Regions from separate parts of the Homo sapiens genome. Here regions 2, 3, 4, 5 and 6 are each linked to region 1. Evidence: promoter capture Hi-C in 16 types of primary human blood cells and fetal thymus (Javierre and others, 2016). All regions are on one chromosome and are shown on one strand. Each heading gives the region's core, a stretch centred on a gene start or on the middle of the fragment in contact. The rest is flanking DNA. Distances are from core to core; before and after follow the strand shown.

Evidence for each region. The method cuts DNA at HindIII sites, captures the fragments that hold promoters and counts their contacts. A CHiCAGO score of 5 or more calls a contact.
Region 2: a fragment that was not itself captured here is called in contact with the fragment with the promoter of PDX1 in region 1 in 4 of 17 cell types (activated CD4 T cells, non-activated CD4 T cells, M1 macrophages and 1 more); the score reaches 6.9 in activated CD4 T cells.
Region 3: a contact is called between a fragment that was not itself captured here and the fragment with the promoter of PDX1 in region 1, in 1 of 17 cell types (M0 macrophages). The highest score is 5.3, in M0 macrophages.
Region 4: a contact is called between a fragment that was not itself captured here and the fragment with the promoter of PDX1 in region 1, in 1 of 17 cell types (M2 macrophages). The highest score is 5.4, in M2 macrophages.
Region 5: a contact is called between a fragment that was not itself captured here and the fragment with the promoter of PDX1 in region 1, in 4 of 17 cell types (total B cells, naive B cells, M2 macrophages and 1 more). The highest score is 8.5, in total B cells.
Region 6: a contact is called between a fragment that was not itself captured here and the fragment with the promoter of PDX1 in region 1, in 1 of 17 cell types (M2 macrophages). The highest score is 6.2, in M2 macrophages.

The regions. Positions count from the first base shown.
Region 1 is chr13:27,918,432-27,922,159 of GRCh38, forward strand. PDX1 (pancreatic and duodenal homeobox 1) reads left to right here and starts at 1,569. Exons shown (of 2, transcript NM_000209.4): 1 at 1,569-2,113. The coding sequence starts at 1,708. The HindIII fragment of the contact is 8,603 bases long and covers 1-3,728 here.
Region 2 is chr13:26,950,369-26,954,096 of GRCh38, forward strand. No RefSeq gene overlaps it. Among named protein-coding and RNA genes, the nearest start is that of USP12-AS1, 170 kb to the right of the region's middle. The HindIII fragment of the contact is 4,808 bases long and covers 1-3,728 here.
Region 3 is chr13:27,004,259-27,007,986 of GRCh38, forward strand. No RefSeq gene overlaps it. Among named protein-coding and RNA genes, the nearest start is that of USP12-AS1, 120 kb to the right of the region's middle. The HindIII fragment of the contact is 3,162 bases long and covers 418-3,579 here.
Region 4 is chr13:27,295,829-27,299,556 of GRCh38, forward strand. No RefSeq gene overlaps it. Among named protein-coding and RNA genes, the nearest start is that of RASL11A, 27 kb to the left of the region's middle. The HindIII fragment of the contact is 547 bases long and covers 1,844-2,390 here.
Region 5 is chr13:27,360,098-27,363,825 of GRCh38, forward strand. No RefSeq gene overlaps it. Among named protein-coding and RNA genes, the nearest start is that of GTF3A, 63 kb to the right of the region's middle. RefSeq lists an enhancer at 2,257-2,758. The HindIII fragment of the contact is 5,719 bases long and covers 1-3,728 here.
Region 6 is chr13:27,380,564-27,384,291 of GRCh38, forward strand. No RefSeq gene overlaps it. Among named protein-coding and RNA genes, the nearest start is that of GTF3A, 42 kb to the right of the region's middle. RefSeq lists an enhancer at 369-1,056. The HindIII fragment of the contact is 3,986 bases long and covers 29-3,728 here.

The DNA of each region.
Region 1 (3,728 bases), core at 319-2,818:
GAGCCACACATCAGAGCCACACACATGAGGCCACAGGCCAGGAAGCCACACACATGAGTTCTCACACATCGAAGCAAATGCTGAGACTATACCGGCCTCCCGCAAGAGAAGGAATCTGCAGAGAAGTCCACATTCCCGACTGGCTTTTTTGTCTTTTAATAAAAATAAAGAGTCCTCAGAATAGAGCACTCAATCCGCACTTAAAACACAAATATTTCCAGTAGGAAGAAAGAAATACATTAAGATTGACTCTCAAAGGTCTGGATGTTGGTGCGTTGTTTAGGAAAGGCGGAGCAGTGATTTTTCTCTGGCTTGGTTCTTTGTGGTTCAAGCTCTCTCTTGCTGAGACGTTTCTGCAAAGCTGTCTAGTTTTTCTAAAACCCACGGTGGCGTTTCGAGAAACGTCCTCATTTCGGGAGTATCCAGTCAGAGGCTGGTCAGGCCGCCAGGCCTAGCGGATCATGCCCAGGCAGGGGGTTGGACGTCACCGCCACCCGGAGGTCATCCATCCGCGTCAGTGGGTGCAGAAAAAGTGGCCCTGTTTAAGTCAGGACCCCAGAATGCCCAGAAGTTACTGAATGGTTTGAAGCCAAGCACAGATGTTATCATGGAAAATGCAGCGTTTTTATTTCTTTTTCTAAATATGTAACTCTTCCTCCACTTCCCCCTCTCCTGCTTGCCTTATTTCAATTGCAAGCAGAAGAGAGTGAGTGTTCTCTGCCGGCAAACTCCGCCAGGGTCCCGGCCCGTAGAGAGTCGTCAAGGGTCTGGAACCCCCGTGCCAACACCTGCCCCTGCTTCGCAGCCCCAAGAGGAAGGCCGCGTCTTTCCCCCTCGCTGTATTGGGAAGCTACGTTCCGGGCTGGCCAAATGGGCCCCAATTTTCCAAAACCCAAATTTGTAATACCCTTCAATTTTTTAAAAAAAAGAATTTAAAAAAGTCTCTGTGAATGCTTCAGAAGTTACCGTTTACACCCCAGAAGTACTTGCAGCACATCCACAAGTAAAAACACACAACGAATGCCAGAGTTTCGTGTGTTTTTTAACCGACATCTTTGTGGCTGTGAACAAACTTCATAAATAAAATAGAATCAAATGCTTCTGACCTAGAGAGCTGGGTCTGCAAACTTTTTTTTTATCGTATTCCGCAACAGTTAAATAAAAAATTAAAAACTCAACATGTCTCCTTGTAAACTACATCAATTAACAAACACACTATGTCCATTATCAAATATAATAGAAAAAATATAGGAAAATAGAAAATAGAAAAATATAGGAAAATAGAAACTTTTAAGCCACGGTGAAAATGTTTCTATAAATGAGTGGTTCTAATGTTTTCGTGAGCGCCCATTTTGGGGAGCACCGCCAGCTGCCCGTTCAGGAGTGTGCAGCAAACTCAGCTGAGAGAGAAAATTGGAACAAAAGCAGGTGCTCGCGGGTACCTGGGCCTAGCCTCTTAGTGCGGCCAGCCAGGCCAATCACGGCCCCCGGCTGAACCACGTGGGGCCCCGCGGAGCCTATGGTGCGGCGGCCGGCCCGCCGGTCCGCGCTGGCTGTGGGTTCCCTCTGAGATCAGTGCGGAGCTGTCAAAGCGAGCAGGGGTGGCGCCGGGAGTGGGAACGCCACACAGTGCCAAATCCCCGGCTCCAGCTCCCGACTCCCGGCTCCCGGCTCCCGGCTCCCGGTGCCCAATCCCGGGCCGCAGCCATGAACGGCGAGGAGCAGTACTACGCGGCCACGCAGCTTTACAAGGACCCATGCGCGTTCCAGCGAGGCCCGGCGCCGGAGTTCAGCGCCAGCCCCCCTGCGTGCCTGTACATGGGCCGCCAGCCCCCGCCGCCGCCGCCGCACCCGTTCCCTGGCGCCCTGGGCGCGCTGGAGCAGGGCAGCCCCCCGGACATCTCCCCGTACGAGGTGCCCCCCCTCGCCGACGACCCCGCGGTGGCGCACCTTCACCACCACCTCCCGGCTCAGCTCGCGCTCCCCCACCCGCCCGCCGGGCCCTTCCCGGAGGGAGCCGAGCCGGGCGTCCTGGAGGAGCCCAACCGCGTCCAGCTGCCTTTCCCATGGATGAAGTCTACCAAAGCTCACGCGTGGAAAGGCCAGTGGGCAGGTAAGCCTGGCTCCCCACCCCTTTCTCCTTTCCGGTTCTCACCCGGCCGCCTTACCTCCAAGCGCTCCCAGGAGCCTTCTCTCTGTTCCCGGCGCCTTGGATTATCCCGGGTCGGACTAAACTACATCAGGGAGCTACCGAGCCCATCCCTCACAGCAGTGCTTCTCTAGTCCAGTTTGAAGCATCTTTCCCACCCAGCTCTCCTGGGAGTGTACACTCCTTCCTTCCCTGTTCGCTGAGCCCATCTTCGCCCCAGGAGCCCGCGCTCCCAGCGCCATCCTTAGAGAGCCGAGGCTGAGTCCTGCTCAGGGCTTCGGACACTACAGATCCTCCTCCAGCAGGGGATCCGGGAACCCAGGACTCCTTGGTAGTGCACATCGAGGAAGCCGAGTAGGGACATGGGTGCCTCGGACCCAGGCCCCAGATCGCCTTCGGAGCCCCGGAGCCCCTCACTTCCCGCGCTTCGTTAAGGAAGGGCAGGCATCTAGGGGCGCCAGGTAGGTGCAGAAAGGCAGGGAGGGAAAGGAAACTGCACCCAACCCAGCAGTGTCCGGCTGCCCTGGTTGTGGAAACAGGATAGGAGTAAAGAGGAAGGGGCTGGGGCAAGGCGGGGGCTCACCGCGAGGCTGAAAGCCGGCCTCTCAACGTCAGAGCCTGGCAGCTAGGAGAGCAATCTGAGAAGCGAATTCGTTTTTCACCAACCGAAAGCAATTGAAGCTGTCTCCCCGCACCGCTTCCCAGGAAGTAATTTTTCAGGAGATGGGCGCTCCCTGCCTAGCTGGTGGGGAGGCGAGAGGCCTGGTTCCTGCGGCCCTCCGCGCCGGCAGAGAACAGAAGGTCTTTCCCGGAGCCGGGAGCCGGAGGCACGGGGTAGCCCCCGGGTCCTTTGCGGCCCCGCGCGAGCGGCAAGTTCCGGCGCGGCCTGTGTCGTCGCCGCTACTCACTGTCATCGCTGCCGTGCCTCAGCCACTTCTGGTCACACCTGCACCGCAAATAGTTGCCTTTTCCTTTCAACTGGCAGCCGGGAGTAGGGGGAAGCAGCTCGAGCCGGCGTCCCCCGGCCCACCCCGAAAATCCTCAGCGCCCATCTGCGGGGTCTGGCCAGCCCTGCCTGACACTGACCCCAGGCGCAGCCAGGAGGGGCTTTGTGCGGGAGAGGGAGGGGGACCCCAGCTTGCCTGGGGTCCACGGGACTCTCTTCTTCCTAGTTCACTTTCTTGCTAAGGCGAAGGTCCTGAGGCAGGACGAGGGCTGAACTGCGCTGCAATCGTCCCCACCTCCAGCGAAACCCAGTTGACAGGGGCGCCAGAAGCTGCCGCGGCGCCTCTGCAAATTTATCCAGCTCGCGCAGCCCGGGCCAAAGGCCTTGAAGTCTCCGGAAATGCGGGGTTCTTAGGAGGCGGGAGGACAGTCCCTCGAACAAAGGTGGGGGGCTCCTCGTCCTCACCCAGTTTTCTTCCAGGGCTGCCTCCCCTCCAGACCTCTCTTCTGGCCTCCTAGGCCCTCGGAGCTCCTGCTTTCCCACCCTGGGCCTTCCTCAGGAAATGGGCGACATCAGGGTCCCGAAAGAGGATTTGTGAGGTGGAGTAACTTCCCTATCCCAACCCAAGGGGTG
Region 2 (3,728 bases), core at 755-3,254, 970 kb before region 1:
TTTCCTTTTCTTTCTTTTTTTCTTTACTCTTTCTTACTCCCCTCCTCCCACCTGGAAAAAGATCAAGGATGACACTTTTAAGGAACCCGTTAGCAAATATGCCATATATTCATTGAGCCAAAAAATATCCTGCAAGTGAAAAACATGTTTTGTCAGATGCTAAATCCTTCATGGGTGGAATGTTCTGAAATGACAACTCACCAGGGCAGGAGGCCGGGAGCTCAAAAGTGTTATGGGGTCTGGGAGCCAGGGCAGTGGATCTGTGAGTACGCACTGCCCTGACCCCACCCCACAGCACACACACGCACACACTCCACCACGGAAGGGGAGGGCTCGAGGCTGAGTTAGAGCTTCTGCCAGCCCCGAGAAGGCTCTGGGTCACCTGTGTCCCTCTATTCAGCACAGAGGGCCCACCTGCCTGCATCCTCCACCTCCTGGCGTCCCGGGAGGGCAAGGACTTTAGTACTTGATACGTGATTCAGTTACGTCCTGGGAGCCCAGGAGGGAGCTTAGCACCCAGGTGTTTAATAAGCACTTCTAGAATGAGGTAGGAAGTAAGGAGACACTGAACCAGAGAAAGTGTGACTTTTCACATTTGAGACTTAGGGCTCTTGGTTTTCACACACAGGGTCAGGTATCAGGGGCCCAGCCAGTAGTTCCCCAATCTGAGCGCGTGAACGCTGCTGCACACTCCCTGACTGGGGAGGCCTGCGGAAGGGCCCCAGGAAACACACTTTGTTGTTGTTGTTGTTGTTGAGACAGAGTCTCGCTCTGTCACGAGGCTGGAGCGCAGTGGCGCGATCTCGGCTCAGTGCAAACTCCGCCTCCCGGGTTCAAGCGATCCTTCTGCTTCAGGCTCCCGAGTAGCTGGGACTACAGGCGTGTGCCACCATGCCCAGCTAATGTTTGTGTTTTTAGTAGAGAGGAGTTTCACCATGTTGGCCAGGATGGTCTCGATCTCTTGACCTCATGATTCGCCCACCTCAGCTTCCCAAAGTGCTGGGATTACCGACAGGAACCACTGCGCTCAGCCAAAACACACTTTTAACAAGCACACCAGCCAACTGCAAATGTTCAAATAACTTGGTTTCAGCAGAGGCTACTTTTCTCCCGTGGCCAGGTGCAGAGAGGCCGATGTGCACATCTGCTGCTAAGCTCCACCTGGGGTTTCCTGCTGCCAGGCTGTGGGTTCCAGGAAGGCCTGGCCCAGGACCCTAAATCTTTGCCATCTCTGCCTCTAGTGGCCCTGCAGAACTCGAATCGGGAATAAAGACCGCAGCACCACGGCACACACAGGTGAAGCCCAGGTGACAGGTTGTGCCAGCTCCTGCTCATGCTCCCTGTTGCTAGGGATTGTGAAACAGGCAGGGGCGACCAGCCCCGTGCCAGCCCAGCGGTCTAAATGTTCCAAAGGTGACAAGGCCCAAGGCAGGGCCTCTTGAATAAGCCCCCATGAGTCTGATCACTCACGCCAACAGAAGCTGCTTATCTCTTGAACTTTCAGCCTGCTAATTCCAACCAAGGTACATATCGCTTAGCTTTGGGCAATAAAAAGAAAAAAAAGTGTGTTTATCTGCTGTAGCTAAATCCAGTCTCTCCCAGATGACTCTGCTGTAGGCCTATTTCCTTGTTCTCCAAGTTCCAGTTTCTATAGTCAAGGCCAGCCAAAGAGCACAGCTCACCCAATGGCCTGAGAACTTGGCCAGCCCGAACGCCCTGAGCCCAGTTACCCAGAGGCCCCATCCAAGATCACAGCCAAGGTCAGGAGCTGGTGCTCCGGAGGCCATTGGCTTCCAGGCCCTCCATCCCATAAATAATGGGTTGCTGGTCAACCGGAATTCAAAAGGGGTTGATGTTATCTGAGTAAACCCGTTGTTGAAGCCAGATAGGGCCTTCGGGGTGTCTGCAAAGACTAGAGCCCAAAAAAGCCTCCACCTGACACTGAGTTAGGACCTAGAGTCCCAGTGGCACAGACCAGTCCTGAACCAGCCCACGACACCCCTGCTGCTACCATCTCCTCCCTGCCCTGGGACCTGGGATCTGGTTGTCAGCACCGCCATGCAGGGGAAATGGATCGGCAACAAGCAGAATGTCCATGCTTCCCCGTGGCCCTGGAGAGAAGGGGCCAGATGGAGAATGAGCCAGCTTTTGGCAAACACATGGACTCAATGTTCTGGAGTCTGCCCCTCACTAGGAGTCCATTCCAGGCCTAAGGCAGCTCACCTTGGCTCTGTTTGGTTTTGCCATTGACAGAGGCTCGGATCAACTGTGGACACGTGGGAAGGGTGGAGTGGGGACAAGGACACCGCGCTGGCTATTCCTTAGCACAGCAGCCCCAGAGGTGCATCTTCACAGAGGAGGTGCCATGGCCCCACTGTCCAAGGGCCAACCCTCTCTGCTCAGCCCTCGTGCCAACTCCCACCTTGGTCAAAGGCGGACAAGGGCCCTGTAGATCCTCGTGTGTGAAGCGAGTCATTTTGCTGGGATGGAGCTGCTCAGATACAGGCTACCACCCAGGGTGCCCCCTTGCAGTGTGGCACCGAGCACAGCCATCTTTTAGAAACACGTCAGTGCTTGAGGTGAATCAGCTGAATTGTGGTTTGGCAGTTATATTTTCTCCAGAAGCAGCATGATTGGACAACAGGTGCGACTGTCTGCAGAAAGCAAAGGCCCCACCAGGGCATCTAGAAAAAAGGGTTGGTTTCCACAGCACCAGAAACAGCAGCCTTTAGGCACCCAGGGCCCCGGACCTAGAGAGATCTGGGGACCAGAATGGGTGATGGGCTGGGAATGCAGTCCTGGGGCTACCTGTCCCTGTTCCTGCCCCTGGGCACCAGGTGGTCCCAGCATGCAGACTCCCACCCTGGCTGTGCCCTGCCTTAAGGAGAAGGGAAGGGAGGGGGGCCTCCCACACAGATTTCTTTGGCCCAGTGGCACATCTCATTGTCTCCTCACTCAGCATCCACTGAAGGCTCAGATACTGCGGGGCATTAATGATGCTGTAAGGTAATAAGGCCAGACGCTGCTCGTGTGAGAGCAAGCACTTGATAAAAGGGAGATTTACAGCCACATCCATCAACTTAATTATCTTTTACTAGAGTTTAAACTTAGTAGTAATCCTAATCTCTATTTAGTACGGTTTACAGGATCTATGGACACTTTACAATCTTCCTCTATTGGCAAGTGTCAAATTATGGCAATATTGATAAAACGGTGGAGTAAATGGGAGGTGAGACAACTCCAGAACCAGCTAATATGCATTTTACTGCACTGTAAAAGCCTATGACTCTCTGATTTCAGATGAAAATTTGTAGCCAATAATCAGAGCTGATAATGTTTCGGAAACAATTCTATGGGTCATAAAAGTCCCCTTCATGGCCTTCTACAACATGGACCTGACCATGAGTAGCGGGGAGCGTGGGGCGTGAGCAGGCTCCCTCCTGATGGCCTGCTGCCTTGGCCAAGGACAGGGCTGGGGGCCTTTGATGCTCTTCCACAGGAAAGGGTGCTGGACCACCCTGACCCCGGGCCACCCGACTCACCTGCTTCTAGCAACCTGTGTGGGCTTCTCTTGCAAAGAGACCGTTTTCCAGAGGACCTCATAGGAAAAAGCCTGCTACACTTTCCAAGGGATAGGATAAAGGAGCAGCTGGACCAGTTGCCCTTGGACTGTCTCCAGCCAGCTAGGCAGCCACATAGAGGGGATCTTAGGGCCAATATTATGGCTT
Region 3 (3,728 bases), core at 749-3,248, 910 kb before region 1:
CCTGCAACACATGCACACACACACGCACACGCAAACACACACAGGCACACACACGCACACACACACGCACACACACACACACATATGCATGCATGTTCTTTAATCTTTCAGTTGTCAGGACCTGGATGTGGGATCCAAGGGCTCTCCCCTACACCTAACCCCCTTTCAGGGCCAGACAATTCCCACGGCCCTTTCAGAACTGGCTCAGAACATAAACCCCGCCTTTCGGGCCCACTTCTGTTCCCTGGTCCTCAACCAGCACAAGATGCTTTCTTCTGTTCATCTGTCATTTTTGGCCTGTCTGAACTTTGAATGTTTGTGATTCCAGAATATTGGATGCCTGCCCGATCAATCTCAGATTTCAAATCAAAACCCATTTTTAAATGCTTCATCACAGTTATTCCACTTCTAAACCCAAGCTTTCCCAGGTCCTTTGACATGGGAGGTGGTAACTTTTCTTAAGGGACACCGAAAAACAGCATCTTTGAATTCCCTAAGGGGAGATCTTGACATATAAAAGGTGCTTGTTCTTTATCACGTGGTTGTTTGCAGTTAGGCCTTTGGTTAAATTTTTGAGGGTTGTTTAACAATAACCAATTACAAAAGATAAATGAGGTTAGCACTGTTATATAAAAGGACAAGTCTCACACAGAACTGGAATCCTCTACTGTAATCTGCTTTTCTGAGCCCTGGATTCAAAGATCTGAAAGTCTTGTGGCTCCCATCATGAGAATGGGGTGTTCCAAGGCAGTCAGCCCAGCTGGTCCCATCTCAGTGAGCCGCCACCACCAATGCACTGGCTCACCAAACTCCGCCTCCTCCCCATCACCCCACCTCCTCATTAAACCAGCACCTCACCTGCACCATCGTGTCTCCTCAAGGCAGACCTGTCTCCTCTGCCCCATTCCCACCAATCGTGCCTCAGTTCCATCTCTTCTTGTCCCACTGAGATTACGATAAAGGGGCCCTGTCTCTCTTTGTCTCTCTGTCTCTGTCAATCTCTCTCTCTCTCTCTCTCTCTCTCTCTCTCTCTCTCTCTCTCTCATCTGTGTGTGTTGTTCCTGGTGGATTGCTCTATAACACAAACCTGCTTCACATCCTCAGGAGCCCCCTAAGCACCTTCAGGATGCAAGGCTGATCCAGGGACCCCACTGGCCTCTGCCCACCCTCCCAGGTCCCCACCTCACAAACAGCTCACAGGATGTACACGACTCGCTCCTGTTGGAGCCACACCAGCAACTCCCTCTGCTTGTGTTTTAAAATATAGGTCATATTATTTTTCAGGTATGGTGAAGCCAATAGATCAGGAGACAACTGCTACTGAAAAGATAGCTGTGACAGATCCCGGCGGGGTGGAGATTGGGCACGCCACGCCACACAGGAAGCACCGGGGTTGCCTGGTGGCAGAGGCAGCAGGGAATACGTGGGCCAAGAGCCTTTCCTGTGGTTTCCATGGGAAGGAATGGGTGAGGGGGAGTGAGCAGGCTCAGGATTGGCTGGCTTGAGTGATTGCAGTGAGCTCTAGGGCACAGGCGCTGTCCCCAGCTGCTCGGTGCCTGGCTCTGGGGTGATCAGGGCAGGGGACTAAGGCCCTGGAATGGGAAAGCTCACACTAGCTCCTGGCCGCATCATTTGCTTTCTCTAGGAATCAGCTAACCCTGGTAGGAGCAGTCCCTTCCAGGTCAGCAAGTCCCCAGATGTCAAAGCATCCAATACGGAGATTAGAAAACATAGTTCACACAGCCTAGAGCATCTTTCCTTCGGCCCTGGCAAAAGGTGGGCAGAGTGGCACAGCGGAGGCTCGGGCGGCTCCCATGGCAGGCCAGCTAGGTACCCTCTCTGAACCTTGGTTCCCCTTCTATAGAGGAGGTCATGAGACAAGAGGAGGGGGAAGTGCCCAGCACAGTGCTTGGCACATGGCACTGAGTGAGTGCCAGTGTCCCCCCTTCCACCTGCGTCCTTCTGAGAAACAGCTGAGCTGCTCCTTCCCTGGGGATGTGCTTCTGCCCCTCGGTCTGGGTTCTTTGCTCCCCTCAGGCCCGGCGCTTGCCTCTGTTGCAGATTGAATGTGGCTGTGTGTCTGTCTATCTCCCCCACTGGACAAGGAGAGGGCAGGAACAGGTCATCCAGATCTGAATCCCAAGGGCCCATCACAGAGCCTGGCTCCTGGTTAAAGAGGCTTGCTCAGCTAACATTTGCAAATTTTCACTGTCTCCCAAAAGAATGTTACCTGTGGGCCCCCCTGGGGACAGGCCTCCTCTTTCCCCCCACCCCCACCCCCCGGGGCCTCCCTACTTTCCTCTGCGGGAAGTCACACCAAGCCATTAGCAGCGCGCCGCCTCCCGGGGCGGCACCAGCTGGAGAGGCCGCCTTTCAGCTCAGGAATTGATTTCCCAAGCACACCCCAGCATGTGTGCACACCAGAGACGCCTGGAGTGCTCCTGCTAAGGAGGAAAGCCGCCGTGCCGCACCTGCTGGGAAACGAGGACCTTTCTTGTCACCTCTGCCTCCCCTAGCAGCATCCCAGGCGCAGACCTGGACAGCTGGCTCCCGCACCTGCCCTGGGAGTGCTCCCGGCAGCAACGGCCCATGCTTTTCCAGGCTGAAGCCAACCAGGTTTCACTGAAGATCTCAGTGCATAGAAACGGATGGCATAGCACCTAGCAAGGAAGAACTACCCCATTTTTAATAACTGCTTAATGAGAAAGTGCCATTAACTGCACATAGTCTCCGTTGGTTTAACCAGCCGAGTGCCGAGTGCTGAGTGCCGAGCGCTGAGTGCCGAGCGCTGAGTGCCGCCCAGCCCCGCCCTCCTTAGGCTTGCTTACCACTCCTCCCTGCCCCTCACCCCATGGCCAGCGCCTGGGCTGCTCTGGGGGCATTCACAGGTGGGCTCCGGTTATGGAGAAGGCTGGTGCGGGGCTTCCAGCTCCAGGGACTTGTAGTTGTGGGGTCTTCTCTTTGCCACAGATTCCCTCCTCTGCTGTTGTGGGGCTTGTGACATTTATTCATGGGAAAGAGAGAGGAGATAGGAGGAGGTGGGGAGGGGACCGTGCAGCTGCTTCTGAAATGTGTGCTCTCTGGAGGGCGAGGAGCTGGGACGGAGGGAGAGACAGCTGCCGAGACAGCAGGCGTTCTAATTCCCTGATCCCACACCTGGCTTCCCGCCACATCAGTGCCTCCGATGCCTGGAGCCCTCGTGGGGGAGGCCACGGCAGCAAGGAGCAGGTTGGCAAAGCGACATTCATTCTGTCTTCTAAAAACACTCGTTCAGCTCTTTACATGGGCTGGACAGTGAGGATACAAAGAGCAAAAATAGATTTTCCTCACTGCACTTGGGTGCTAGCTGAAGAGTCAAATAAGTAATGATGCAAATAAAATGTGACACAGCATGCCTGATTCAACCTGGAGGGGACAGGGAGGCTTCCTGATGGAGGTGATGCCTTACCTCAGTCTTGAAGGAGACATGCGTTAGCCACATGAAAAAGAGAGGAAGGAGAGAACTGACCATCCAAAGGAACAAGACAAAAGGATACTGCATAACAAGAAAACTACTATACCTACGCCAAATATTTACAAAGCTTAGTCTGTAGATCCAAAGCAAGTCACATCAATTATATTAAGGTGCTCCCCAATGCAAAAAACAGAACGCCCAGCTAAATGTCACTCAAACTGGTGCTTTTCAAACTTCAGTGTGCACGCGAATCACCAGGAATCTTGATGAAGTA
Region 4 (3,728 bases), core at 867-3,366, 620 kb before region 1:
ACCTTTCTATGTAAATGCTGTACATGGATTCACATCTAACACCCTTATGACGTTAAGTCCTGTTATTGTCACCTGCACTTTACAGATGCAGAGACTGAGGTGTGGAGAAGTTATATCGCTGGCCCAAGATTACACAGCTGTCAAGAGGCAGACTCAACCTTCACACCCAGGCAGTCTGGCTGCAGGCTCTGCTCTCTTTGCTACTATGCCATAACTGCCCCTCACTGAGAGGCCTCTGTCTGTGGTCAGGATGGTCAAGACCACATGGAGGCCAGGAAGGTTGTTACCTGCCACAGGGACAGAACCATTGTGTCCTTCCAAAATTCATAATTCAAAACCTTCCCCACTAATGTGATGGTATTGGGAGGTGGGGCCTTTAGAGGTGATTAGAATTAGATGGGGTCCTGAGGGTGGGGCCCTCATAGCGGGATTGGTGTCCTTATAGGAAGGGACACCAGAGAGCTGGCTTCCTCTCTTTGCCCCGTGAGGACACGGTGAGGAGGTATAATCCAGGAAACAGGAGGAAGACCCTCCCCAGACATCGAATCTGCCAGAGCCTTGAGCTTGGATGTCCCAGTAACCAGAATGGCAAGAAACTACTGTTATGTAAGCCGCCTGGTCTGTTGTGTTTTGTTATAGCAGCCGGGCTGACTAAGACGACTGCCATCCCCCCCCACCAAGTGAGCACTCTGTGCCCCAAATCAAGCCCTGGAATGCCCCGAAGTCTGAGCTCCCTGGAGCCCGAGCTCCTATCCCTCCAGCTAGCATCAGCGGTTCCTGGTGTCCCTCCATCTGGTTTGGCTTCACATTCCCAGCAAAGCGGTCCAAACTAGGTCAGTAACAGCAGGAGCGGGTGGCCTGTGCTTCCTGCATCCTCCTGCTCCCTGAGCAATCTGGTCCAGTGGCTGAGAACAGTATCTCCTCAGGCTGCCGCAAAGCCCTGCTGAGGAGGACAGTGATTCAGGCTGAGTGTGTCTTAATGGTTCTGTCTGCTCCTTCTTTGCATGTATCAGAGCCTGCTGCTCCGAAGAGGTTTTCAAGCTCACGGAAACAATGGGGCTGGCAGTTTTCAGTACAGAACTTGTGCTCACCAGAGGGGAAAGGGCTCTTAGGGCAGTGAGAACCCAGGGTATGCCAGGGGAGCTTCCAACAGCAGAGAGAAAGACCTTGGATATTTGTAGCCTCAGCTCCTCACCGGCTGTATGACCCTGGAGAGTATAGTCATCACAGTAGCACTTATGGGCCACTTGTTATGAATCAGGCCCTTTGCTAAGCATTTTACATATATGGTCTCATTCAATCCTCACAACGACCTGGGGAGAGCGCCTCATTTTATGGATAAGGATATTGAGGTCCAGGGACAAGGAGGCTGAGTTATTTGCTCAAGGTCATACATTTAGTAAACAGCTAGGATTTGATCAAGATTGTTCCTTGTTCTCTCTCTCCTTTCCTCCCTCCCATCCTCCCTATCTCTCTCTCCTTTCTTTCCTCTTTCTCTTCCTTCCACTCAACAAATATTTGTAGCATCTGTCTGACGCTATGCCAACGGGGAGGTACAGTAGTGAACACGACATTTTGGTCCCCACCTGAGGCTAACTACGCTCTGTTGTCTCCCAAGCCATTTAAGCCTTTTCCTGCCAAGCCCCACATGGAGAAAGCGACCCCTGTGAGGCCCCCACTGGGGTTCAGAAAGCAATACCCCAAAGTCTGGCACTTTGATATGCGGAGAGGACTTAGAAGCTGCCCAAGAATCAAGGTCCCTGTAACCTTACCTTGTCCTCTTCCCCCTACCTACATCAAGTGCAGAGAAGAGCTCTCTGAAATTTCCTTATCTGGCCAATAAAGCTTCTTTCCAAAGGATATGAAATTGTTTTAAGACCTCCTGCCTAGGGATCCCATCAAGTAACCAGGAAAAATAAACTGAAAGAGAAGAGGCTGGGTGTTATCAACACACCCAGACAGATTTTTCATCTATTCCTTTGAGGCCAGCTCCAAGAGATGACTTGGGAGATTTTGTCTGCATAAGACACCTTTTGTTCCTGTGCAGCCCCATCCCTCACCTTCCCTAATGCCTGCCTCCCACCTCCCAGGTCCTTAAGTCTCTTCCCTATGAAGAGAGTACTTAGGCCTCAACCATCCGGCCCTCTTTGAGTTCATATTGTGTATGACTCCTGTGGGCACACATGCATGTAAATACATTTTACATGCCTGTTTCCTGTTAATCACCTTTTGTCAGTTGATTTTTCAGCAAACCTTCAGAGAACAAAGGAAAATTTTCCCTTTGCTCCCACAACCCAATGGTCTTCCCTTGGCTTTTAGGTGCATTCAGAAGTGGGAATATTGAGACTGAGAAGCATTAAGTATCTGGGCACTTGGGTACACCTGTTTGAAGCTTGGGGCAAAGTTGGGGAATCAACCTTTGGGAGTGAATGAGTTTGTCCAAAATGAAGTGTGTAGTGGGAGGACAAGAAGGGGGATGAACCAAGGGTAGAACCAGGATGGGTGGCAAGGCTGTGGGAATTAATGGATGGGTGAAGAAGAGAAAGCCTATGACAGGGCTATGAAGGAACATCAGAGAGGTGAGGGAAGAACCAGAAGAGAGCATTGTCCTAGAAGTCAGGGAAGGCGTGAGTGCCAAGTTATGGGGTGTGGTCAACAGGATTACGTGGCAGCCCGATAGTTTAGCCTTCTTCAGCGACATTTGTTTTTTTCTAATACACAGAATTCCTCCTCCTATTTCTTTTGAATTCCTTTTCCTTTTTAATAAAGTGGAAGGGAAAGCTCTGACTCCAGTCACCTGGACTCACTCCCTCAATGCCAACTCACTTTTGCCGGGTCCTTGTATATCCTTCCTGTGGTAGTCTCTCCAGTTAATGTTTGTGAAAGTAAAATTGTCAACTTATTTACCAGTTCAACTGCTAGATGGAATTGTGTTCAAGTTCCATTTATACAAAAATACCCCAAATTCTGTTTTTTGTAAGTTTTGCATCATTCTTAATGTAATGTTGCAAATACAATAAGTTTTACATTATTTTCCACTTAGAGTAGGGTTGGTGGTTTGAAACAGAATGTTCCCTTCCCTCCTGAGAATTGCCACAAATTTCCTATTCCCGGCCAGAGGGACAGCCCATTTGCAGAATGAGAAGTTTGACACACGTGAAAACCAGTGAGCAATCTAGTTAATAGCTCTGCCAGCTTCCTGGTGTTCAGAAAGATCACTCACTTGGATTCGTTCCCCAGTTAAGTGTCCTTTGCACCATGGCAGCTTTCAACATTTGAGCAAAGCTTTATCAGACAGGATTGCCATCCAGGAGAGCAGGGCATGGTTTTGTCATCAAGGTAGATACCGGGCTCTGCCATTTCCACCTCAAGGACATCCTTCCAGGTCCTCACCACGAGCTTTGGGCTCTCATTCTTCCTTCCTCACCTGGGCCCTTCACAGAACTTTCTCCGTGGGGGACGACAGCCAATATGTCTGGTGTAGCTCAAACTTCAAGTTTTGTTTTTTGAAATGTGTATGTTTTCATATGGTTAGAAATTTTTAAAAATGTAAAAAGGTATAAAGTGAAAATCTTCACTTCTCTTCCTGTATTCATCCACCCAATTTGTGCTCCTCCCCATGTACCCAAAGGTAACCGCTTGTATTAGTTTCCAGCTCAAACATTGTGCTCTCCATAGACCAGTGTCTAATCCTCCCACTGGGTCCCATTGCTCCTTTCTCTGACTTC
Region 5 (3,728 bases), core at 626-3,125, 560 kb before region 1:
CAGAGACCCCGTCTCAAAATAAATAAGTAAATAAATAAATAAATAAAAATAATCATAATAATTTACTTTCTCTATCATAAAACACTGGAAACATAATGTTCATTCTTGTCCTAATGAGATTTTCATCTTGGGAAAACATTCTTTTCTGCAGGGGAAGATACTGTTTTGAAATTGCATTTCAGTTACTTACTTACACATCTGGTACTCCCTCCTATTGTATGGAAGTGCCAGTTTCTCTCATAAAAAATACCTCATGTTCTAGAATGATACCTGCACAGGTAAGATGCTCAACTCATGTCTTTCCTCCTCTTCCTGCAGACACACAGCAGGGTGTCCCATTCAAACCTAACCTTGTTCTTGCCTCAGGGGTCCTCCTTGGAATGCTCACTCTGCACCCAAGCTGGCTTTTCAGAGTCATTCAGAGCCACTCTAAGGGATCCCTTTTCACTGGGCCCTCTCAACTATAAAATCATCACCAGACATTTCATCTCCCTTGTAACAGCTACACTCATCAGTGTAGCTGATTTCTCGTCTCCTTATTTCTCATCTGCCTCTCCCAGCTACCATGCATGCATCATTAACATTCCATGTTTGTTCTCTGCTTTCTTGGCAACAAATAGTGCCTGCACCTCGGAGGCACTCAGTACTTATTTGTTGAATGAATCAACTAATTCCATCTTTAAGAACTGGGTTCCGGCCAGGCGCAGTGGCTCACTCCTATAACCCCAGCACTTTGGGAAGCTGAGGCGGGTGGATCACCGGAGGTCAGGAGTTCGAGACCAGACTGGGCAACAGAGTGAAACCCCATCTGTACTAAAAATACGAAAATTATCTGGACTTGGTGACGGGCACCTGTAGTCCCAGCTACTTGGGAGACTGAGGCAGGAGAATCGCTTGAACCCAGGAGACGGAAGTTGCAGTGAGCCGAAATCATGCTACTGCACTCCAGCCTGGGCGACTGAGACCGTGTCAAAAAAAAAAAAAAAAAAAAAAGAAGAAGAAGAACTGGGTTCCTCTGCCAGCACAGCTGCCCATCCCATCGTGTGCTGGACCAGGGACCAGGGAATGAGAGGAATGACAAAGATGCCTGTGTCCCCCTTTAAGCCGTTATTTTGCAGGAAGCAGTGAGATGGTTGAACATATAGATTGGCATGTTTTCGAGGTGCTCACTGACTTTATTATTTGGCTCACTGAGCAGCTGTCCAATGAGGCTGGGTTTAGATTGTTTTGGGAAGAGATTCATATCCTTCTCCAATTACCTTTTCCAAGTTAGTCAGCCATTGCTGGTCGGTTCCCTCCACTATGAAGTTGTGTGTGTGTTTGTGTGCTCGCACCCTGCCCCCATAACCCAGGTGCGGGCTGAGGAGAGGAAGCATGTTTTATTTATTATTTTTATTTATTTATTTCTGAAATTCAGTTTTTTTTTTTTTGAGAGGGAGTCTCGCTCTATCACCCAGGCTGGAGTGCAGTGGTGCGAACTCGGCTCACTGCAACCTCCGCCTCTGGGTTCAAGTGATTCTCCTGCCTGAGCTTCTGGGACTACAGGCACCCGCCACCACGCCCAACTAATTTTTGTATTTCTAGTAGAGACAGGGTTTCACCGTGTTGGCCAGGCTGGTCTTGAACTCCCGACCTCAAGTGATCCGCCCTCCTCGGCCTCTCAAAGTGCTGGGATTACAGGTGTGAGCCATCTCGTCCGGCCTCTGTCGTGTGTGTGTGTGTGTGTGTGTGTGTGTGTGTGTGTGTGTGTGTGTGTGTGTGTGTAGAGAAGGGGTCTTGCTATGTTACCCAGGCTGGAGTGCAGTGGCCCGATCATAGCTTCCTGCAACCTCGATCAACCTCGATCTCCTGGGCTCAAGCGACCCTAGAGGAAGGGCGTTTCAGTATGGGCACTTCTTAGGAAATCTTCGCTGCTTTGGAGACTAAAAGAGCCCAAAGGCAGGTAGGTGAGCCGCGGATACAAGCCTCCCTGTCTCCCTGTTGTTGCATACAGGTCTCACAGGAAACTAAGTGAGGAGTAGGGAGGGCAGTGGGTTAGGAACAGCGATGGCCAGCAGATGGCGCCAGGCCCCAAGGCATGACCCGCTGGCCGCAGGCGCGCCTAGGAGTGGCCGCGAAGCTAGTCCCCAAACAAAGCTGGAGCCAATGCGCTCTCTGGGGTCCTTCACATCCTGCTACTCAACGACCTGAAGGTAATCAGCTACTTCCTGGCTCTGGGGCTTCACCTTTTAATGAGCCTGGTTAGCCGGTTTTGTTTTCTTTTGGGGGACGTGCGTGTGGTTTGTGACCCCTTTTTCCGTTGGCTCTCAGAGTCCAGAGCTCCCCGGGGTCCGCCCTGACCCGTGGCTCCGCCTCGCCTCGCTCCCGCGCCCAGAGCGGCGCTCACAGGTCGGTCGCTGCCTGCACAGAGGTCTGTCCTGGACCTCTTAGGTTGGACTGTCCCCTCTCTCCCTGTCGCCGCTGCTGTTTGGGGACTTGGACGCCCCTCTGCAGAGGCGGGGGGCCTTGCCTCCGGCCCCATCTGACATCTTCCTTGAAGAATCGCTGCCTCACCTAGATGTCCTTTGGGTGGCGCAGTTCGTTGGCCTTCTAGGAAGGCTGGTTGCCAAGAGCAGGGCTTTTGCTCAGGGCCCCGGTGGCTGACGATTGTGTCCTGCGTGGGATAATCGAAAGTGTGCACAAGTCACTCACTGATCAGACGTCCCAGGGAGACCGAGGGGTGGGTGCAGCTTGATGGAACCTCTTCTCCAGGCCAGCAGAGGGAGGGAAGGCAGGCCTGCCCCACCACGCCTGTCCCCAAGAACCCCGTCTTAAGCCAGCTCATAAATCTCCCATCACTCCTTCCGTGTGTCCTGGCTTCCCTCCTCAGCTCGGAGCAGTGGACATTTCCACCTGCAAGGTGAACTGTGCCCTACTGTGCCAACCGACAGGGATCAGGGGAAGGTGGACAGAGGGGCTGCACCTCTGTCCTTTACCCCCGCCATCCCCCACCAACCCCAGGTCAGATCTCCATTCCCACAATAAACTGTACCTAGCGGGGTGCAGGTGTGGTTTAAGGACATTCTCCTGGCCAGAGCCAGTGGCCTGCAGTGTGGTCTTCCCTAGATGTCCTCGCTGCAGGCATGAGGCCATGCCAGGTGGCCAGGCTAGGCTCTCAGGGGTGGTCCTGCTGTCTATGATGTGTGGGGAGCAGGCCTGGAGGAACTAAAGAGATGCAGGGACAAACATTTCCCAAAGGCCTGATGACATTTACTGGATTCAGCTGCCTTCATAAGCCTGCGTTTCTAGCTTTCAGTGTTTCTGGGGTTAACTTTAAAACAAAATCAAACCAAAAAAGGTTGTTATTATATACTGTGATTGTCCACAACTCTTAAACACAGGCCAGTGACAGTTTAATGCACTCCCACATCTGCTCAGGATCATAGAATTCTCTACATTTAAGAGTCGGGGGGCCGGGCATGGTGCCTCACGCCTGTAATCTCAGCACTTTGGGAGGCCGAGGCGAGTGGATCACCTGAGTTCAGGAGTTGGAGACCAGCCTGGCCAACATGGTGAAACCCTATCTCTTCTAAAAATACAAAAATTAGCTGGGCGTGGTGGCATGCGCCTGTAATCCCAGCTACTCTGGAGGCTGAGGCAGGAGAATAGCTTGAACCCAGGAGGCAGAGGTTGCAGTGAGCTGAGATTGCGTCATTGTACTCCAGCCCGGACTACAAGAGTGAAACTCA
Region 6 (3,728 bases), core at 772-3,271, 540 kb before region 1:
GCCTGCCAGTTCCAGTGGTTTCTTTCAAAGCTTTCACTGCAGTCCCCTGAACAAATACTTTTTTCCCAAGAGGCGTTCCCCAGGCTGAAACAAGGGGAAGTAAATGTGACCCCACTGCATTGCCTCCCACAAGTCATTCTGCCTCCTTCATCCTGTCCTGGTCTTTGTCCTGTCCTGGTCTTCAGGGAGCCCCTGGGAGGGAGACCTGTGTCTGCAGCGGCCAGTGTCTAGCAGAGGTGGTGCCTCTATCCAAAGCCATGGCCCACTCTCCTGAGTGCGAGTGAGCCCCAAACAAACCTTGGAGAACCTTCCTGCTTTCAGGTGCCCCAGGATCCCTGAGCACTTCTGCCCATCTAGCCTCCTAGAGGAAGCCCAGTCGGGGGGGGGGTGGGGGAGGGGCGGTAGGGGAGTTAGCACCCTCTTGAGAAAAGCGGCAGGCAGGCAGCAAAGGAGAGAAGGATGCTAGCTGGAGTCTGTTCAGCCCAGGTGCCTGGGGAGGGTCCTCAGTGTCTGCAGCGGAGTCTGGATGTCCCTGCAATGGGCAGAGCCCCACATTGGGCAGGGCGGAGCTGGCTTGTTGAGGAGTCCTACCTGCCTCCACCATTCCCTGAGTGCTGAGTGGCGTGTGGGCTTTGTCTGGATGGCTGAAGGAACAGAACAGTACCTGTGGTATCCTTCTTTATCCCAGCCCCGCTGGACCCGGCCCCTATAAGGCAGTGTGGTAGGTGAACCCCCAGAGGACACCCTCAGACCCTCTTCTCGTTCCTGGGGGCGGGGGACGTGCTGTAGCCTGACCCCAGGAACATTGGGATTCCTACCTGTCCTATCCCCCCCTCCTGTGGGGGCAACCAGCCCCAGCTGAGGGGTACCAGATGTGAGAGTCGGAAGCGCACCCTCACCCTCCCTTCCCAGCAGCTGGCTAGAAGGCCTCTCTTAAAAGGCCTGGGTACCTGGCCGTGGGGTGTGGGGAGGAAGGAAGGGAGTGGGAGAGAATTAGACAAAGGAAGCCCACCATAAAACCAGCAGCAGGTCTGTAATCGTGACAGCCCTTTGTTTAGAGCCGGTTTAAACAAGTTGTGATCCTTTGGAAGGGGAGGCCATAAACCGAGGGGTGAAATAAAAGTGTTTACAGCAAGGGAGACCCAGGTGCTGGGGGGTTCGTTTGGCCAGGATCAATGCGGGAGCGGGGCCGGTGCGGCCTGGCCTGGCCTGGGCTTGGAGAATGGGCTTCCTCTTAGTGCCGGGCGGCTCCAACATCACAGACTCAAGCCCGACGAGGGGCGGCCCTCCCCACCCACACCTGCAGTCGAGGGGCAATCCCACATTCCAACCTGGGGGCACGGGGCAGGAGCCCGGGTCTGCACCATCTAGAGATTAATTGCCTGGGGCCGCAGAGCTTACAGTCAGCTTCTCTGCTTCTCTACAAATTCCTTCATAATGGACTTGAGGGAGTTACACTAATAAGAGGGTGTGAGGACAGTTGTTTCTCACAGACATGCCTCTTAGTCCCCACTTATCAGGCTGGGAAAGTTAGGGTTAGGGCCCGAGGGAGTAATATGGTTATATCTGACATGTCCCCAGCCCTGAGCCCCCCACACCTACCACCATTTCTGTCCTCCGCTCTGTTTAGCAATGCTGAATACATAAACATCACACAATCAGTCAGTCATTCCGTAAGTTTAACGAGCACTTCCGGTAGGGCAGACAACCAGGGCAGGGGCCACAGAGGTACAGGACACAGTCTCTGTCCTGAAAGTAGGGCAGTTTGGGGATAACTAGCAATAATATTCTCAGGACATGTCAGCTGGCATATACTCATGTTTTTAAAATAATTAATGCTCCCCAAGAATATATGTGTCCATGCAACACGATACCTTTGGAGAATGGCAGTACCAAATAAGACTAACATGGTCCTTGGAAGAATATCGTGCTGATGTCCTCCCCACGTAATTTGTTGTTTGTGCTCAGCAGGAAATGTTGCCAGACTTTTCTGCAAAAATTCACACTGAGGTCACACCTATACTAATAAGGAAAATGAGTAGTCAGAGGCACAAGACGGATCAGGCCCCTATTCTCCCTTAAGACATTTGTATGGCTCTTTAGCTTGCAACATTTGTGGAAGTGGGGCAACTACGTGGGGGCCTCTTAAAGAGAAAAGTCCCCATGAAAATGTCCCTTCTGTCGTTCATGTATTCAATTCTTGGATCAGCCTGGCCAGTTAAAGAGATGAGCTTTGTTCTGTAATACCCAATATGTTTTCTTCATTAGGAGAACAGTTCAGAAAATAAGCAAAGATGCCAGTTTCATCTTTAAAATGACTTCATTTTTTATAAATTGATTTCAAACACATTCTAGTCTGAGCCTGGCCACTCTGGTGACCTCCCTAGGACCATTTCCTTATTTGTAAAATAATCATATTTATAATCTCTGCATTCCTGCTTCGTTAATAACAACAACAAAACCCAAATAGGATTCTAAGTAGCATAGTGGCCTGATCAATTGCGCTGGTGGGAATCACATTCCTAATCACACAGTTAGGAAACATTTCGCGCCCTCCAGCATTTGGTAATATATACCATTTACTGGTGTAAGAGGCACGGGCCCCTCTGTCTCTTTCAGTGATTGATGCAAATTCTCTACTCTCCCAAAGCTCAGCTCCCTGGGGGAGAAGTCCTGGAGACTGTCCTTACTGTGCACTGTGAGGTTCAATAGGTGGCAGCAGCCTTTATCTCTGATGGCTGGCATCTTGCTGCCTTTGCTGAACCGGTTCCTGTGGGAACCGGTCTCCCCATTGCTCTAAGGCAGGAGTGTGTGTCCTTCAACTGTGATGCTGAGCCATTGCATCAGGAGCCTCTCAGATACATAGCTGCTGGAGGAGGACCAACCCTTGATATGGGGGTGCTGGGAAGGGAAGAGCGTGGTCCCTTTAAATGATACAGAAGGGGGTAAGGGAAGTGCAGGGTAGAGGAGGGCGTGGTCCCTGGCTAGGGCTCCACCCCCATGGACCTTGGTGAGGACAGGCATTTTTGTTGCATTTCCCAAGACCACCCTGGCCGACCTTCCACACCCTTATCCTGGACCTATAAAAACCCGAGACCCTAGCAGGCAGACACACAAGCCGCTGTACGTGGAGAAAAACAAATCGATGAAAGAAGACAAGCGGCTGGACATCGAGAGACATCAAGGGGAGCATGCCGGCAGAAGAGCACTCAGACAGATGCTGGCAGGCCATTGACCCGCGGAAGGAGGCGGAGTTTGGACGGGGCAGTCTGAGGAGAGCCTAGGCCGCCAGGTGGCCCAGCTCCACAAGGAAAACCATCTCCCTTCTGGCTCCCCCGTTTGACGAGAGGTACTTTTACTCAATAAAGCCTTGCACTCATTCTCCAAGCTCACGTGTGATCGGGTTCTTCCAGTACACCAAGGCAGGAAACCCCAGGATACAGAAATCCTTCTGTCCTTGTGATAATATGGAAGGGGATCTAACTGAGCTAACACAAGCTGCCTGCAGACAGCTAAACTCTTAAAAGAGTACCGTGTAACACATGCCCACTGAGGCTTCAGGAGCTGTAAACATTCACCCCTAGCCACTGCTGTAGGGTTGGAGCCCCACAGCCTGCCCGTCTGTATGCGCCTCTAGAGGTTTGAGCAGTGCGGCATTGAAAAGGCGAGGCGCACCCTCTATCGCAAGCCTTGCGAGGGGGACAGGGGAACTTTTACGTTTCAGCATC